Regions from separate parts of the Homo sapiens genome. Here all the other regions are linked to region 4. The links are contacts of gene promoters, found by promoter capture Hi-C in blood cells and fetal thymus (Javierre and others, 2016). All regions are on one chromosome and are shown on one strand. The core of a region is centred on a gene start or on the middle of the fragment in contact, and the rest is flanking DNA. Distances in the headings are between cores, read along the strand shown. Region 1 overlaps FANCC (FA complementation group C). Region 2 overlaps AOPEP (aminopeptidase O (putative)). Region 3 overlaps FANCC (FA complementation group C). Region 4 holds the start of FBP1 (fructose-bisphosphatase 1).

What was found. Contacts are between HindIII fragments. The CHiCAGO score rates a contact against its expected background, and 5 or more counts as called.
Region 1: a fragment that was not itself captured here is called in contact with the fragment with the promoter of FBP1 in region 4 in 2 of 17 cell types (M2 macrophages and monocytes); the score reaches 6.7 in M2 macrophages.
Region 2: a fragment that was not itself captured here is called in contact with the fragment with the promoter of FBP1 in region 4 in 1 of 17 cell types (monocytes); the score reaches 7.5 in monocytes.
Region 3: a fragment that was not itself captured here is called in contact with the fragment with the promoter of FBP1 in region 4 in 2 of 17 cell types (endothelial precursors and M0 macrophages); the score reaches 6.2 in endothelial precursors.

The regions. Positions count from the first base shown.
Region 1 is chr9:95,118,657-95,123,321 of GRCh38, reverse strand. The region is part of intron 10 of FANCC (FA complementation group C); the gene reads left to right. It also overlaps a transcript of AOPEP not described here. Among named protein-coding and RNA genes, the nearest start is that of MIR3074, 35 kb to the right of the region's middle. The HindIII fragment of the contact is 6,876 bases long and covers 1-4,665 here.
Region 2 is chr9:95,050,470-95,054,678 of GRCh38, reverse strand. The region is part of intron 13 of AOPEP (aminopeptidase O (putative)); the gene reads right to left. Among named protein-coding and RNA genes, the nearest start is that of MIR6081, 13 kb to the left of the region's middle. The HindIII fragment of the contact is 6,308 bases long and covers 1-4,209 here.
Region 3 is chr9:95,147,374-95,151,765 of GRCh38, reverse strand. FANCC (FA complementation group C) reads left to right here. Exons shown (of 15, transcript NM_000136.3): 7 at 1,679-1,843. It also overlaps a transcript of AOPEP not described here. Among named protein-coding and RNA genes, the nearest start is that of MIR3074, 63 kb to the right of the region's middle. The HindIII fragment of the contact is 2,111 bases long and covers 1,105-3,215 here.
Region 4 is chr9:94,636,948-94,641,001 of GRCh38, reverse strand. It overlaps FBP1 (fructose-bisphosphatase 1), which reads left to right and starts at 1,484. Exons shown (of 7, transcript NM_000507.4): 1 at 1,484-1,861. The coding sequence starts at 1,692. RefSeq lists a silencer at 1,351-1,410. The HindIII fragment of the contact is 3,451 bases long and covers 481-3,931 here.

The DNA of each region.
Region 1 (4,665 bases), core at 220-2,719, 480 kb before region 4:
TATTTTATTTTATTTTTTGAGACAGGCTCTTACTCTGCCACCAAGGCTGGAGTGCAGTGGTATGATCATGGCTCACTGCAGCCTTTGGCTTCGTGGGCTCAAGCGATCCCCCCACCTCAGCCTCCCAAGTAGTTGGGACCACAGGTTCAAGCCACCACGCCCAGCTAATTTTTAAATTTTTTTTTGTAGAGATAGAGTCTCTCTGTTGCTCAGGCTGGTCTCAAACAGCTGGGTTCAAGGGATCCTCCCACCTTGCCCTCCCAAGGTGCTTGGATTCCAGGCTTGAGCCACTGTGCCTGGCCAACAGTAAATATTTGTGATTTATTTTTTCCCACCCTCACTTTCCCTGGAGAAGTTAGCTGGGCTGTAGCAAGCTGCGCTATCCATGGTCCCACCTAGAATTTTGGAGGTGGCTCGGCTGGAAGGCACAGCTGGCCCTCACGGTTATTTTGAGCCTAACTGTAAATGTCTCTGAGCCTCCCTTGTGCATTCTTTGTAGACCCCATTAGGAACGGGCCTCTGGGGAGTCTCACCTGTGGCCTCGCGGAGCACACCTGGGTTGGAGCAGAGGCCACGGAGGAGTGCCACTGTGCTCTTTAGGGTTAGCTCGCGCCTCTTTTTCTTCTTAGCTTCACCCTCAGCCTCTATGTTGGCCGTGGGCACTATGGATTGGGACTGATGTTGCAGTTGCTTTTAATTGAGACTAGTACCCTGACCAGGCATACGTATCTAAGGACGTGGGACCACACACTGGGTCCTGGTGTGAGGCAAGGCAGGGATCCAAAAACAAACAGGAATTCACCACCCTCGCCTTCAGCTCAACAAAGGAAAGGAAAGTCTCTTTGCTTTGCCAATGCCTGCATAGGTATCTGTTAGTTTATTTCTCTTCCTAGAGCTGGACCTGAGTGCCTGTCTTTTTAACTGATGGCCATCTACATCTTTTGACCCTCTGCCTTCTTGACTGTCCATTTTTAGCTAATCAAAACCCTTCATGTCATATTTGGTAGATGCGTGACCCTCTTTTCTCTCTGTGTTTTATTCATTAATTCCTTCTTAATAAAATGAGTATCTGTAAACCTGATATCTAATAATCTGAATATATGTCTATCCACGTGCTCCTCCCTGCCTCTCTCCCTCCAGGTAACCTCTGGTTTGAATTTTATGTGCCAGGCGTGGTGGCTCACACCTGTAATCCCAGCACTTTGGGAGGTCGAGGCAGGCAGATCACAAGGTCAGGAGATCGAGACCATCCTGGCTAACACGGTGAAACCCTGTCTCTACTAAAAATACAAAAAAATTCGCCGGGCATGGTGGTGGGCGCTTATAGTCCCAGCTACTCAGGAGGCTGAGGCAGGATAATGGCATGAACCCGGGAGGCGGAGCTTGCAGTGAGCTGAGATTGCGCCACTGCACTCCAGCCTGGGCGACAGAGCGAGACTCCATCTCAAAAAAAAAAAAAAAAATGAATTTTATGTTTATTATCCCTTTGCTCTTTCTGAAAGTAGTTTGATCACATATATATGACTGCCTAAACAATGTTTTGTTTAGTTTTGGTTGTTTTTGCACTATATAAAACAAACAGGAGCAGCATACTCTGTGCAATCTTTTGAGACTTGCTTTTCCACTCAGCAGAGACTTCTTGACGTTGCCATGTGTGGCTGTGGGGAAGTACTGTTATGCATAGTCCATTGTGAAAACGTATGGCAGTGTAGCCATCCTCCTGCTGGTAGGCACTTGAGATGCTTCCAGGTTTTGTTTTTTATTACAAACAATGTTGCTCTGGACACTCTGGGATAGATACTTAGGAGTGGAAGTGTATTTGGAATACAAAAGTTCAACTTTCATAGATCCTGCCAGACTCATTTCAAAAGTGTTGGTGCTCATCTGCACTTCCTGCAACAGTTTATGAGTGATCCCATAAATCCACATTCTCTCCTATCATCAGAAGCACTCATGTCAGTGCTTCTGTCTCTTCTTACCCTTTCCTCTTGTCCCTGTTCTGTTTGGAGGACACAGTCAGCTCCATCAATATGCCCTATCAGACAGTAGGCAGAAATTGAAATGGGTGTGACAAGCCACTTTTTCTAAGCCTGCACTGTGGCTCAGTACAGCCAGTCAGGTCAGTTTCTGGTTGCAGCCATGACAGCATCTGGTAATGAGCTAGATTAAATCATCTCCCACAGATAAAAATGATAAACTCCAGGCAAAGTATTTTTAAAAATCTATTTGAAGGCACTACAGAGCACCTGAAAAAGTGGACAGAAACTGGAGGCCATCAGCCCTTTAAAGGGACATCACACAGAGAGGTCTCCTGCCTCCCCCCAGCTGCCCTCATGTGAGGTTGGAAGGCAGGCAGTGTGGGGCCAGGAGAGGGCCAGAACTTGGCACAATCTGATTGACTTAAGGTGCCAAAAAATAGAAGTGTAAGCTGCCAAAGGAACAAAAAAATTGAGGGGAAAAAAGAAAACCAATGTCAAAAGATAGACCTAAACCCAAAACTACCAACAATGACATTAATTTCAGCAATTAAATGGAAGTTAAATATTCTAATAAAAAGGCAGAAACGTCAGATTGAACAAAAAAAATGAAGACCTGGCTGGGCACGGCGGCTCATGCCTGTAATCCCAGCACTTTAGGAGGCCAAGGTGGGAGGATTGCTTGAGTCCAGGAGTTGAGTTCAAGACCAGCCTGGGCAACATAGTGGGACCCCAGTCTCTACAAAAAAGTAAATAAATAAAAAATTAGCTGGGCATGGTGATGCATGCCTGTAGTCCCGGCTACTCGGGGGGTGAAGTGGGAGGATTGCTTGAGCCCAGAACGTGGAGGCTGCAGTGAGCCATGATCACACCACTGCACTCCAGCCTGGAAGACAGGGCGAGATGCTGTCTTAAAAAAAAAAAAAAAAGATTTTAAAAGCCATTGTAATCAAGACAGTGAGGTATTGGCAAAAAGACAGCCATAGATAGATCAGAATTGAGTCCAGATATAGACCCATACATATGTGGCCAACTGATTTTTGACAGAGATGCCAAGACAATTCAATGGGGAAAGGAACGTTTTCAACAAATGATGCTGGAATAACTGGATGTCCATATGTAGAAAAATGAACCTCAAACATTACCTTGTAAAGCACACAACAGTTAATTTGAGAGGATCATGGGCTTCAACAGAAATGTTAGAAAGATAAAGCCCCTAGAGAGAGCATAGGATAATGTATCTGTTTGACACTGAGGTGATCTAAGATTTCTCAGAAGCACTAACCATAGGAAAAAATGGATAAATTAGACCTCATCAGAATTTAAAACTTTTAGGCTGGGGGCATAGCTCACTCCTGTAATCCCAGCTCGTTGGGAGCCCCAAGGCAGGAGGATCTCTTGAGCCCAGGAGATGGAGACCAGCCTGGGCAACAAAGTAAGACCCCTTTTCTACAAAAAATACAAAATTTAGCTGAACGTGGTGGCACACACCTGTTGTCCTAGCTACTCGGGAGGCTGAGGTGGGAGGATCACTTGAGCCTGGGAGATCAAGGCTTCAGTGAGCTGTGATCATGCCACTGCACTCCAGCTTGGGCAACAGAGTGAAACCATATCTCAAAAAATAAGAAAGGAATGTAAAATTTCTATTCTTTGATAGATATCATTAAGAAACTGAAAAAGCAGGCCAGGCACGGTGGCTCATGCCTGTAATCCTAGCACTTTGCAAGGCTGAGGTGGGTGGATCACGAGTTCAAGAGATCAAGACCATCCTGGCCAACATAGTGAAACCCCGTCTCTACTAAAAATACAAAAATTAGCTGGGCATAGTGGCATGTGCCTTTAGTCCCAGCTATTTGGGAGGCTGAGGCAGGAGAATCGCTTGAACCTGGGAGGTGGAGGTTGCAGGGAGCCAAGATCACACCACTGCACTCCAGCTTGGCAACAGAGCAAGACTCCATCTCAATTAAAAAAAAAAAAAAAGAAAAGGAAGAAAGAAGGAACTGAAAAAGCAAGCCGTTAGCTAGGAGAAAATATTTGTAATATATGTATACAACAGAGGACTTGTGTCGAGAATATATGAAGAGCTCTTATAACTGCCTAAGAAACCAGTTTTTAAAATGGACAAAAGACTTGAATATATACTTTCAAAAAAGATACATAAGTTGGCAGTAAGCACATGAAAACTGTTCAGCGTCATTTGCCATCAGGAAAGTGCAGAGTGAAACAGGTAGGAAAGCAAGCATACATAGGGTTATGTTCCCAGCCACTAGAATGGATGAAATGCTGGGGAGTATGTGGAGCAACTGGAATTCACATACATTGCTGGTGGGCGTAAGATGGTACAACACCGGAAAACCATATGGCCTTACGATGTTAAACAAGCATCTATCTGTGACCCAGCAGTTCCATTCCGATGGCATCCCCAGGAGAAACAGAAACACATGTCCATGAAAAGACATATGTATGCATGTTAACTACAGCTTTATTCATGACAGCCCCAAACTGGAAGCAGCCCAAATGCACATCAAGAGGAGAATGGCTAAACAGACTATGGCATATTCATACAATTCAGACTACTTCTGAGCAATAAAAACAGAATGATCTACTCGCACACAATAACGTGGCTTAATCTTTAAGAAAATATGTTGAGCCCAAGAAGCCAGACACAAAAGAAAACATACTTTATGTT
Region 2 (4,209 bases), core at 1,038-3,537, 410 kb before region 4:
TACTACAAACTTTGAGCCATGGTTTGCTTGTGGAGTTTCTAAAAGTGGCACCACAGAACCTAAAACAGACACATACCATCATTCGCAAATACTATCTGAAATAATTTACTGGCATAAATAATTCTCATGTTTCCAGATTGTAAGTGTCAAATGTTCCCGTGCTATTATTCCCCTAACTCTTGTTAAAAGCATACACTATATGCAATCTAACACAAAGCATATTATTTAAATGATGAAACATGCAATCCTCTGGTCAACTGGATCTCTTACAACCACGTGTACATTAATATTTTATGTTATTATATATGTTGGAAGCATCATAAACACTCAAATTGAAAATTTCCAAGTATTTCACAAGAGATGTGTGGGATCCTTGTGTCCACCTCCCCAACCCCAGATCCTGCCAGACCAATTACAAGGGGCCAAAGGGAAAACATTCCTGATCTATGCTTCTCAAGAAAATAATCACTCATGAAAAAGAAACTAAATTCCTAAGTGATTCTGTCTATTCACCCTGCCATGACAACAATGGCATGTTCAATATATGCCTGAATATTTCTAAAGAAATTGGAATACTTTAAAGTATCAGAATATTCCTAACTTTTCTTGTATTCACATTTTCATAAAAATTTCCTTCTTTTTGTTTCCTTAGAATTAATGCTTTTGCCACAAGTGGTAGCTCACACCTGTAATCCCAGCACTCTGGGAGGTCTAGACAGGAGAATGGCTTGAGCTCAGGAGTTTCAGACCAGCCTGAGCAACACAGTGAGACCTCGCTCCCTACCCACCCCCAAAATTAGGTGTGGTGATATGCATCTGTAGTCCCAGCTATTTGGGAGGCTGAAGTGGGAGGATCATCTGAGCCCTGGAGTTGGAGGCTGCGGTGAGCTATGATTAATCCAGTAGACTTCAGCCTGGGCAACAGAGCAAGACTCTGTATCCAACAACAACAACAACAACAACAACAACAAAAATGAATTAATGCTCTTACCTAAATTAATAACAGTGTACGTAATATACTTGTTGTATTTATCTTGAAGGAGAGTATACATTTTATAATTCTGAGTTCCTAATTTACAAACAGTGACATTTGCTAGCTCCAATTCTAGTTATACATTAACTTATAACCCCCTAAGGCCCAGCATATGAGTATACCTTTACTGTAAAAAAACGGTTGGTTGAGTATATGAATCAAAACATCCTATATGGTATGTAGCCATGCAATGGAATACTATGTAGCTATTAAAAAGAATGAGATGGAATTATTTTTGTAATATAGGAAGATGGCAAGAAATGTTTTTAGAAAAAAGGTTCAGAATAAAATGTAAACTATGGTTCAATTTGTGTAAATTACATTCTAAAGATACATAATAAGAAAATAAGGAATGCTTTGTGTCAACTGTTTCTCCGAGTAACCTACCTGAACTCTCTGGCTTCCCCTCTGTCCATTTTTCTGCTTCCAGCTGAAGCTGAAATATTTTTCTTAAATCATGCTACAAGTATTTCCTAATAATTCACTTAAAAGAGAGATCTACTTTATGAAGAAATTCATTACCACAACCAAACCTAAGAACACTGAAAATAATTAAAGCATGTGCTCTAACAAAGTACTGAACCAGGCAACTGGAAACCAGGGGTTTCTCTAAAGCTGGCCCGGTAGGTATGGGAAGACCTCCTAGCACTAAGTGTGCACCGAGAAACCTATCATTGTCTCTCTAGTCTTAGTCATAACATTTTAACATTGGTTCTGTGCAAGCAGCAATCAAGAACTGGAAGAATTTAAAATTTTCCAAATATTCTGTAAACAGATATATAGGAAGCACAGTGTCAAACAGTCACATGCTCAGGTTTTTAGGCTGTTACTTACAATACTAACAAATTATAAAATATATTCAGATTTTTTTTCCAAGGGAAAAAACCAGTAATTTCATCCAAACCCAGAATTTCTTCCTTTCTATAACTTCCTATATTACTCCAATATGTCAAAAATCACAATCAGATGGTCTGTGTAGGATTATTCATTACAAATTTAGTAATTTTAGTTAATAATTTATCAACACGATTCTTCTTTGGTTAAATGTTTTTTATACAGCCCTATATTCCTGGTGAATAGTAATCTATACTATGCACAAAATTACTGTGTTCATATGGACAAATAGGCAATCATCACTAACATTCAGTGTGATAATATGGTTTTTCCTCTAAATTAGAAGGGATTAGCAAATGGGGAAAAAACTCAGCTCTTACAGAAAATACCTATCTTCAGAATTTTATGTACAGAAAATAGGATCCTCTCCTTTTGAGTTTAAACAAGGAATAACCGAGTTCAAAGAAAACTATATTTTAACTTCTATAAAAGGAATATACATTTTTAAGGCTGTGTCTTAAATACTGGAACCAGATTTTGCTCATGTCATGTGCTATCTACCCCCATCCTTGATAGTCAAATGTTTATCACATTGAAATAAACGACTTAATGCCCAATATAGTAAGAAGAAATAATAAGGTAACAATGTCTGCAAGAATAGCTGTCAATTAACAATCTGGTGATTTAAAAGAATTTATTAAAAGCAAATTTATATAGCAACACATGAAAATTCAGACCAGGAGTGGTTCTCATTCCTCAACTAGAACATATCTAAAAAATACAAATTTATCAACTTAAAAAGTTTCATAGGCCAGGCACGGTGGCTCACGCCTGTAATCCCAGCACTTTGGGAGGCCGAGGTGGGCAGATCACGAGGTCAGGAGATCAAGACCATCCTGGCTAACACAGTGAAACCCTGTCTCTACTAAAAATACAAAAAATGAGCCGGGTGTGGTGGCAGGCGCCTGTAGTCCCAGCTACTTGGGAGGCAGAGGCAGGAGAATGGCGTGAACCTGGGAGGCAGAGCTTGCAGTGAGCCAAGATTGTGCCACTGCACTCCAGCCTGGGCAAAAGAGTGAGACTCCGTCTCAAAAAAAAAAAAAAAGTTTCATAAACATTCTTTACAGTACAGATCTGGTTAATTATTCTTCATATTTAAAAAGCTAATGGTAAAATGACTGAAAATGCCTCTTTAATTATAACAAACTGCAATCAATGAAATGATAGCTCTGCAATTTTTTAAAAAGCAAATAGATGGGCTGTATGAGGAGTTATAACAATCTAGTTTGCTTTATGTGCAAAAACTCAACTGTATGTCTTAGAAAGATCTCTCCCTTTGCCTTCCATAGTCTCCTTGTTAAAACTTACTATTAACGATTAAGGGTTTTTTAAAATCAAAACTCACAGTTAAAAAAAAAAAGTATGGCTGGGCACAGTGGCTCACTCCTGTAATCCCAACATTTTGGGAGGCCGAGGCAGATAGATCACAAGGTCAAGAGATCGAGACCATCCTGGCCAACATGGTGAAACGCCATCTCTACTAAAAATACAAAAATTAGCTGGGTGTGGTGGCGCGCACCTGTAGTCCCAGCTACTCGGGAGGCTGAGGCAGAAGAATCACTCGAACCTGGGAGGCGGAGGTTGCAGTGAGTCGAGATCACGCCATTGCACTTCAGCCTGGGCGACAGAGCGAGACTCCGTCTCAAAAAAAAAAAAAAAAAAGTAAGCCACAAAAACATTTTAGAGATAACAACATAATAGTTGCTAAGTGAGAAAAAGAATAGCAACAGAAGGACAGAGAAACCAAGTCAACCACTCCGATCCTCAGGTGAGGCAAGTGATTCAAGTATGGACACACACATACACTCTTAGCAAATTCTGAAGCAGGAAACATAATTTATAAATTATTTTCACTCTTGGGTATTTATTCTGGAGTCGGAAACACTAACATTCCATTACTCCCAGTTCCTGTCCTTTCTTGTGCATAGACACACAGTCAAGACAACATAAATATTTTTTTGGTCACATTTTATTTTCTAATATTCTTTATTTTCTACCAAATCCAAACTAAGCATAAATTTTAGCCACATGTCTACAATTTGTCAGGTGGTTTCTGCCACCAAGTTGACAAAGCAACCTGTCCATTTGTAAGGAGAGCCGACCACAACTAAGGAGCAGGGGGGAGGTGGTGAGGTGAGTCCAACTACATGAAGGATTGCTGGAAAAATAATGGAAGTTGTTTTCATTTAATAAAAATGTGTGGAGAGTACTGTACAATCTCCTATCCAAAGTTTCAGTTTTATTTCACAGAATGATTTAATGTCTACAAGGCATAGGAGTCA
Region 3 (4,392 bases), core at 911-3,410, 510 kb before region 4:
TGTAGAGTTGGGGTTTCTCCATGTTACCTGTGCTGGTCTTAAACTTCTGGGATCAAGCGATCTGCCTGCCTCAGCCTTTCAAAGTGCTGGGTCTCCATGTGTGAGCCACCACCCCTGGCCTTGGAAGGCAATTCAGTATGCAAATACTCACACATGGGCACAGACAGGCATGGGCAAGGGTAGCACCACAGCCCTGTCTGAATAGTGAAAAACCAGAAACAGCCTCAGTGCCTACTGATAGTGGCATTGTTAAATTACAGAACATGTTTGTTTTAATAATAGGCAGCAAGTTTTTAAGAATGAGGAACAGCTACATGCTCTATACTGTGGTTTCATTTGTGTTTCACAAAACACAAGACTAAATTTCTATATTTACAATTACATATGAAAATACCTAGAATAGCCTCCACCCAGAACTTTCATTTTATTTATCATTCACTGGAGACGGATTTGTTGAGCACGTGCTGTGTGTGAGGAGTTATCCCTAGGTGCTAGGAATAGAGCGGTGGGCAAAGTAGGAGAAGCTGCCTGCCATTGTAGAGCTTCTGCCCTCAGAGGAGGAAGCGAACCATGAGTACTATAAGGGAATACTGTGTAGGTCAGGTGGTGAAAGGTACCAGGAAGAGAAGTAAAGCACGGGTAAGAGGGCACTTGAAGCTCGAGTGTCCAGTGGCGCTTTCTGCAGTCCCAGGCACATCCTGTAAATGTGCACTGTTCGGTACTGTAGCCGCCAGCCACCTATAGCTGTTGAGCACTTGAACTGTGACTAGTGCAGTTGAGGAGCTGGATTTTTAATTTTATTTCATTTTAATTCATTTGCATTTAAATTGCCACACATGGTAGACAGTATAGTGACATGGGATGATCAGAGAAGACCTCACTTAACAAAGGGACATTTGAGCTGCAACCAGGGAGCTAATCATGTATTTCAGGCAGAGTGAACAGCAGGACTTTATTTGGGGCAGTCAGAGGCAGAAAAGACAAAGGTAAGAGTGGAAGGAGATTAAGTCAGTGAAACAGATGGGGACCCACCATGGAAGGACTTGCTGGCTAGTGAAAGACATTGCTTATTCTCTACATGAGGTGAGAAGCCATTGCAAAGCTTTGAGCAGACAAGTGTTGTGATCGGAATTTTTAAAGGGGTGCTGGAACTGTTCTGATGTTAAACTATAGGAGTGAGTGCAGAAACAAGAAATCCAGAGGCTACTCTGTCACCCAGGCTAGAGGTGGTGGTGAGTTACTCTCCACTTAGGAGGACAGTGATGGAGGTGTTCAGAAGAGGTCAGATGTGTTGCTAGTATTCACTGATGGATCAGATGAGGGGCCTGAGAGAAAGGGAGGAATCAGGATTTGGGCCTGAGCAAACAAGATAGCACTGGGGAAAGGGAACACTGGGAAGGGAATTCAGGAGTTGTGTTTTGGACATATTAAGTGCCTGTGAATATAAAGAACAAAGTCCTGACCATGAATGACACTGAAACAGCAATGGTAGCTAAAAGATTTCTTCCTAAAGAATTGGATAAAAGAGAAGTGTTCATCGATGGTGTTAGAGTCATTCTCTTTATTTAGAGGCAAAACAGGTGATCTGTCTTTGACCTTTTTAGCATGAAGGTTTTTATATGTCCTTAATTATGCATGGCTCTTAGATTTGAGTGATTATTTCTTATTTCTTCCATAGAATGGCTCCCGAGCGAGTGGCGTCCCTGTCACGAGTTTGTGTCCCACTTATTACCCTGACAGATGTTGACCCCCTGGTGGAGGCTCTCCTCATCTGTCATGGACGTGAACCTCAGGAAATCCTCCAGCCAGAGTTCTTTGAGGCTGTAAACGAGGCCATTTTGCTGTAAGTGGCAAATGTTTCCTGTCATCCTGCGTCGTTTTTCCTTTTCTTAGAAGGCTGTGGTGTGTTGGAAAGACTGTACGACAGCAGTGTCCAAACGTTTTTGTCTCAGTACCCTTTATACTCTTAAAAATTACTGAGTATCCCGGCCAGGTGTGGTGGCTCACACCTGTAATCCCAGCACTTTGGGAGGCCAAGGCGGGTGGATCACCTGAGGTCAGGAGTTTGAGACCAGCCTGGCCAACATGGTGAAACCCTGTCTCTACTAAAAATGCAAAAATTAGTCAAGCATGGTGGTGTGTGCCTCTAATCCCAGCTACTAGGGGGGCTGAGTCAGGAGGATCGCTTCCACCTGGGAGGCGGAGATTGCAGTGAGCCGAGATTGTGCCACTGCACTCCAGCCTGGGCAACAGAGCGAGACTCCATCTCAAAAAAAAAAAAAATTACTGAGGATCCCAAAACATTTTATTTTTTTATTTTTAACTTTTATTTTAGGTTTGGGGGTACATGTGAAGGTTTGTTACATAGGTAAACACATGTCATAGGGTTTTGTTGTACATATTATTTCATCACCCAGGTATTAAGCTCAGTCCCCAGTAGTTACCTTTTCTGCTCCTCTCCCTCCTACCGTTGCTCAGGTAGGCCCCAGCGACTATTGTTTCCTTCTTTGTGTTCATACATTCCCAAGAGTTTTAAAAATCTGTTAAACCCTTATTAATATTTATCATATTTGAAACTAAATTTTTAAAAATGTGTTTGTTACTTAAAAAATAAAAATAATTTTATTACACGTTAACACAAATAGCTTATTTTTATGAAAAGCAATGCTCTTTTCCAAGGCAAAAAAAAAAATGTTTGACAAAAGCAGCATTGTTTTTACATTTTTGCAAGTCTCATTTTCTACCCTAAGACTGCTGAATTCTCATATCTGCTTCTGGTGGGACGTGTTGTTTTGGTTGAAGTGTATGAAGAAAATCCAGCCCCACATAGATAGTAATTGGGAAAGGCGGGAATATTCTAGTAGCCATTGCAGATCATTGTGGATAATTCTGCTTTGATAGCTCACCAAAATTTGAAAATGGTCATTTTTTAAAGGGTAGTTGCAATGTGGAATCTGAAATTATGTCAGTTAACTTTCCATACTCTGTTACATTAGAAACCCATTGGTCTGTCTTGCACTTTCAATGGATCTTTTTTGCCAACACACATAATTTTGTAGCATTATGCATGGTTCATTTGGAAAATCTTCATTCATTGAGTTATGTATATCTTCCAAACATTGACATATTTCATATGCAGTATCAAAACCTATAGTCATTACTGCCACCATGGAGCTCATCAGAAATGACTTTAAGTATTGGGAAGCTGTCAAGCTTATGTTGGTGGACATAGATTTTCCAAGATTCTAATTTCTGCTTAAAAGCTAAAATTTATCATGGGCTACAAACACTGTCAGTCATTTTCCTTAGGGGACTGAGTCACTTTGCTAATTATTGAGAAAGTATGTGCCTAATCCTAAAATGTGACTGACCACTGCCTGTCTGCTAGTCATTCTTTCAGGTCAATTTCCATGACAAAAAGTGGTCAAGTGAGCCCACTGCTGAAAGAGTTGTGCAGGTGTACAAGTGGAGTGCTTTTCTCCAGGCAACCGTCTTTTTTTGTTATGAAGCAGAAGTGCTTTATGCACACTTTCCTTTTCACCGTACAGAATTCTTTTTTAAAAGTATCCTTGAGGGCAACAGTTTAATAAAGTCAGTATGTTAAACTGCTTCATCAGACATTCATATGTGAAAATGCAGTGTTTCGACTGTGTGTGTGTGGTGGTGAAGAGTAGCGTGAGGGCTGTCTCGGCTCTGATTCCCACTGAGACACAGCTGTGTTACCCACTGTTGCTTTTGCGCTATCAGTGCAAATGTCAACACGGTTATTCCAGGAAAAACCAGGAGATTCAAAATAGTTATTCAGTACTTTAAGTATTTCCCTACCACTTGGGTGTGTGGCCAACTTTCATATAAAAGAGCTTCTGTGCTTAAGTTGGTGCTGATACCAGACAAGTACAAGCAATACAGTAAGTCCAGAGATTCTATTGTAAGGCAGAAGTACAGTTCTCTTGGTGACATATTAATTTATCACATCTGCATTTAAATTTTTTTTCTTCAGACTCTGAATGATTGGTCTCAAACTGATGTGGCAGTTAACTTGCACCATAACAGTATTCAAAATATTGTTGCATAAGACACAATAAGGTAAATCATTAACATCTGTAAAGGCAAGGGAAAAATAACTTTCCTCACATTTTTTGTCTTTATTTACAGTTTAGCCCACTTTCTCTGTAGCAGATGTCTCCATCTCATGAGTCAGAGAATTCTCTGATGTGTCAGTTTCATCTTTTCTTTTCTTTTCTTTTTTGAGACAGAGTTTCACTCTTGTTGCCCAGGCTGGAGTACAGTGGTGCAATCTCGGCTCACCGCAACCTCTGCCTTCCGGGTTCAAGTGATTCTCCTGCCTCAGCCTCCCGAGTAGCTGGGATTACAGGCATGCACCATCACGCC
Region 4 (4,054 bases), core at 235-2,734:
TCCTGTCTCTCACATATCTCATCTGTCAACGAATCCCATCAGCTCTACCTTCAAAATATGTCCAGAATCCACCACCTCCACTGCTAACACCTGGCTCACTATCTCCTAGTAACCTGGAGGGCACTGTCTTCAGTCTGATCTTCACACAGTAGCCGCAGTATGAAGACACAGGGTAGACCATGCCTCTCTTCTTCTCCAAACTCTCCAGTGGGTTCCTCCTAGTCAAAGTCAAACCTCACTTGGCCCTCTAGACCTCACCTCTGCATCCTCCCGCTGGCCTTATCTCCTCCACCTCTGACCCTTGCTAGCTCTATTTCAGCTCCACCGGTCTCCTGGCCATTCCCTGAACCTGAAACATGGTCTCCTACCCCAGGGCCTGTGCACTGGCTCTCCCGGTGAGGAAACCGCTCTCCTTCCCATCTCCACCGGCGCGTTGCATCCTTCACCTCTTTGCTCACATATCCCTTTCTCAGAGAAGCTTTTACTGAGGCCTCTGCTCACCCTCTTCTCCCCTCCACATTCCGTGTCTTCCTTTTCTATTTCGTTTCTCTCTATGGTACTTATGGCTTATGTAACAAACTAATCTATTGTTTATATATTTATTTTTACTGTTTCTCTGTGAAAACGTACACTCGAAAAGGGCAGGAGTTTTGTCTGTTTGGATCAGGCTCCACCCCTGGAAGGTAGGACAGTGTTCAGCACAGCAGGTGCTCAATAGGTGTTGTTTCGTGAATCAGCACATCAATTGCAGCATTGTGGCTACCAGGGGGTCAGGATGCGGGCGGTGGAGCCCTCTGGCCTTTGTGTGGTAGCCGAGGACTCTGTGTCAGCGACCGTTTTCCGGGAAACTTCCGGGCGAGACTCACATCTTGGAAATTCAAATACTCAATAGCTCTCGAATTCTAGGAATCTTGAGAAGAGGCCTGGATTAAGGATTCAGACGTGGGCCCTCAGATGGGTGAGAAACGGGGACTCTGTGTCTCCTAGCGGGGACAGAAGGGCCAGGTGACAGGCCAGGCAGAGTGGACGGGGCTTGGGCAGGGGGCGGGGGCAGGCAGCCACACGGGGCAGGAGCTGCAGAGCTAAAGCCAGGCCATGTGGACTGGCTGCGGGTTTCGCTGCCTAGCTGGTGGCATTGAGCAAGTTACTTAACCTTTCTGAACTTCCGTTTTATGATTTTGGAGGAAACAGTCATAGCTTTCTCTCTGGCAGAGTCCGATGGCCCGAGTCCCGCTCCACAGTGCGGGTGGAGGGCACGGAGGGGTGTGTGTGGGGGGCGACAGCCCAGGAAGACTAGGGGGCGGCAGGGCGCGTGGGGGCGGGGGTTGGGAGACCGCAGGGAGGATCCCCGACCTTGTCTGAAGATCCAAGCAGGCGGAGCCGCGGTCTGGTCCGCGGGGTAGGCGGGGCGCAAGAGTGTTCCCGGGGGCGGGGGGCCGACCCGCGTCTAAAGGTTTCCGCGATTCACCCGCCGGCGCCTGGCCTGGCCCAGTTGCACCACGAGCGCTGCGGACACTCGGGGCGGCAGTCGGTCTGTCAGTCCTCCCGCCAGGTCCCGCGGCCCGCACCTGCCGCCCGCACCTGCAGCTCCGCACCTGCGGCCAGTGCCTACTGCCCTCTCTTGCCGCCCGCACCTGCAGCCCCGCACCTGCCGCTTGCACCTGCAGCCCCGCGCTCTACCCGGTTCAAGCATGGCTGACCAGGCGCCCTTCGACACGGACGTCAACACCCTGACCCGCTTCGTCATGGAGGAGGGCAGGAAGGCCCGCGGCACGGGCGAGTTGACCCAGCTGCTCAACTCGCTCTGCACAGCAGTCAAAGCCATCTCTTCGGCGGTGCGCAAGGCGGGCATCGCGCACCTGTGAGTCGGGCCTTGGGCGGTGGGCCCCGTCCTGTCTGTCTGCCTGGGGAGCCTGCCCGGCGGGCTGACGTTGGGCCCTCTGAGCCTCCTGCCGTCAGCCTCTGTCTGTCCGTCTGATGTCTGAGCGCCTCTCTCGCTCTCTGTCTGGTAGCCCCTCTCTCCAGAAGCTGGCTCAGCCTCACTCAAGTCCTCATCTCCTCCCTTGACCTTGGAGGGGCCCACCTGGGGGTCCGTCTCACAGGTGTACACCTGATTCCATCTTGCATTCCTCTTCTCTGCCCTGAGCAGCCTGCCTCGTACCCCTCTCAGCCGGCCAAGTGTGGGCACCTGGCCTGCCCGTCATACCCGCCCTAGCCTCAGACAGGAAAGTGCTAGCTCAGGTGCCTTCCTTCCCCATTTCTTCTTTGTCCTCCTTCACTCTTTCTGCAATTAGGGACCCAAGTCAGGTTTCTAATCCAGTTATCTCTGACCTGAAACAAGACCTGTTAGGAGCGAGTGTCCCCCCCGCCCCCCCCGCAAGCAGGCTGGGAGGTCTCCTGTGTGTCCAGAGCCTTTAGGAGCAGCAGGGCTTGTGTGCAAAGGAGCTCCCGTGGGCTGCCCCTTGCTGGGACAGTTGCCATGCTGTGCCAGAAACAGGAAACACCCAGGGCTTCAAAACCCCTATCGATTTGCAATGATGGTGTGTGCAGCCTCTGCCCAATTAGTGGAAAGCTCAAAAGTGGTTTGTAGAATGGTTCTGAATGCGCTATGGAGTGCATCTCGAACGTCACTGGGCACAGGAATCATTTGGGGATCTTGGTAAGATGTGTGCCCTCCTTCCATAGCTCTGGGACAGGTCCTGAGATTCTGCATTTCTAAGAAGTTCTCCTGTGGTGGGTGCTGCCCATCAGATACTGTTTGTCTACTCATCACATTGTGAGTAGCAAGGGGTCAAGTGGAGTGGAGACTCAAAGGACCCCTTCTTGTGAGGTTTTTTGTAAGTCACACAACATCCTTTCGTTTGTGTTGGTGTGCACAGGTATTTTCTTTTTCTTTTCTTTTTTTTTTTTTTTTTGAGATGGAATTTTGCTCTTGTTGCCCAGGCTGGAGTGCAATGGTGCGATCTTGGCTCACCGCAACCTCTGCCTCCCAGGTTCAAGCGATTCTCCTGCCTCAGTCTCCCGAGTAGCTGGGATTACAGGCATGTGCCACCATGCCCAGCTAATTTTGTAATTTTTTTTAGTAGAAACGGGGTTTCTCCATGTTGGTCAGGCTGGTCTCGAACTCCCGACCTCCGGTGATGCCTTGGCCTCCCAAAGTGCTGGGATTACAGGCATGAGCCGCCGTGCGCAGGTATTTTCTAGCTAACTGATCCACACTTTTAACTGAAGTGTAACTGGGTTTTCAGATTGTCCATACACTTTACTAACATTCCCCGCACTTATGCACACTATAAAAATGACACATGATGGGCTGGGCGCGTAGGCTCTAGCCTGTCATCCCAGCACTTTGGGAGGCCGAAACAGGTGGATTGCCTGAGGTCAGGAGTTCAAGACCAACCTGATCAACATGGTGAAACCCCGTCTCTACCAAAAATTAGCTGGGTGTGGTGGCAGGCGCCTGTAATCCCAGCTACTCGGGAGGCTGAGGAAGGAGAATTGCTTGAACCCAGGAGGCAGAGGTTGCAGTGAGCCGAGATCGCATCATTGCACTCCAGCCTGCGCGACAAGAGCGTGACTTTGTCTTAAAAAAAAAAAAAAAAGACGCATGATGCTCAGAGCTGACCTGAACAAATACAACCCTGCTACTTGGGTTTGGAATGCATTTCTCCATTCTTAAAAACTCTTCTCCGCCCCGCATCCTGCAATCTAGATTCCTTTTCTTACTGGCAGGCTGTCTGGCTTTGGTCCCACAGTATGGACTGGTGGAGGTAATTCATGTAAAGGAGTGGTATGATCACATTTATTTTTGAATATTAAGCAGACATGTTAAGGAAGGTGATGACTCCATTACTGTTGCCTCTGGCCCCTCTTAATAATACATTCCTAAGGATTCTTATTTTAGAAACATACCCAGGTGAAATCTTAAGCTTTAATTTACAGCTAGTATAGGTGGCTCACAGCTTTAACTGCCTTTGAGGACCAGGGATATATTTTAAAAAGAGGGCTTGTCGACTGGGTGTGGTGGCTCACACCTGTAATCCCAGCACTTTGG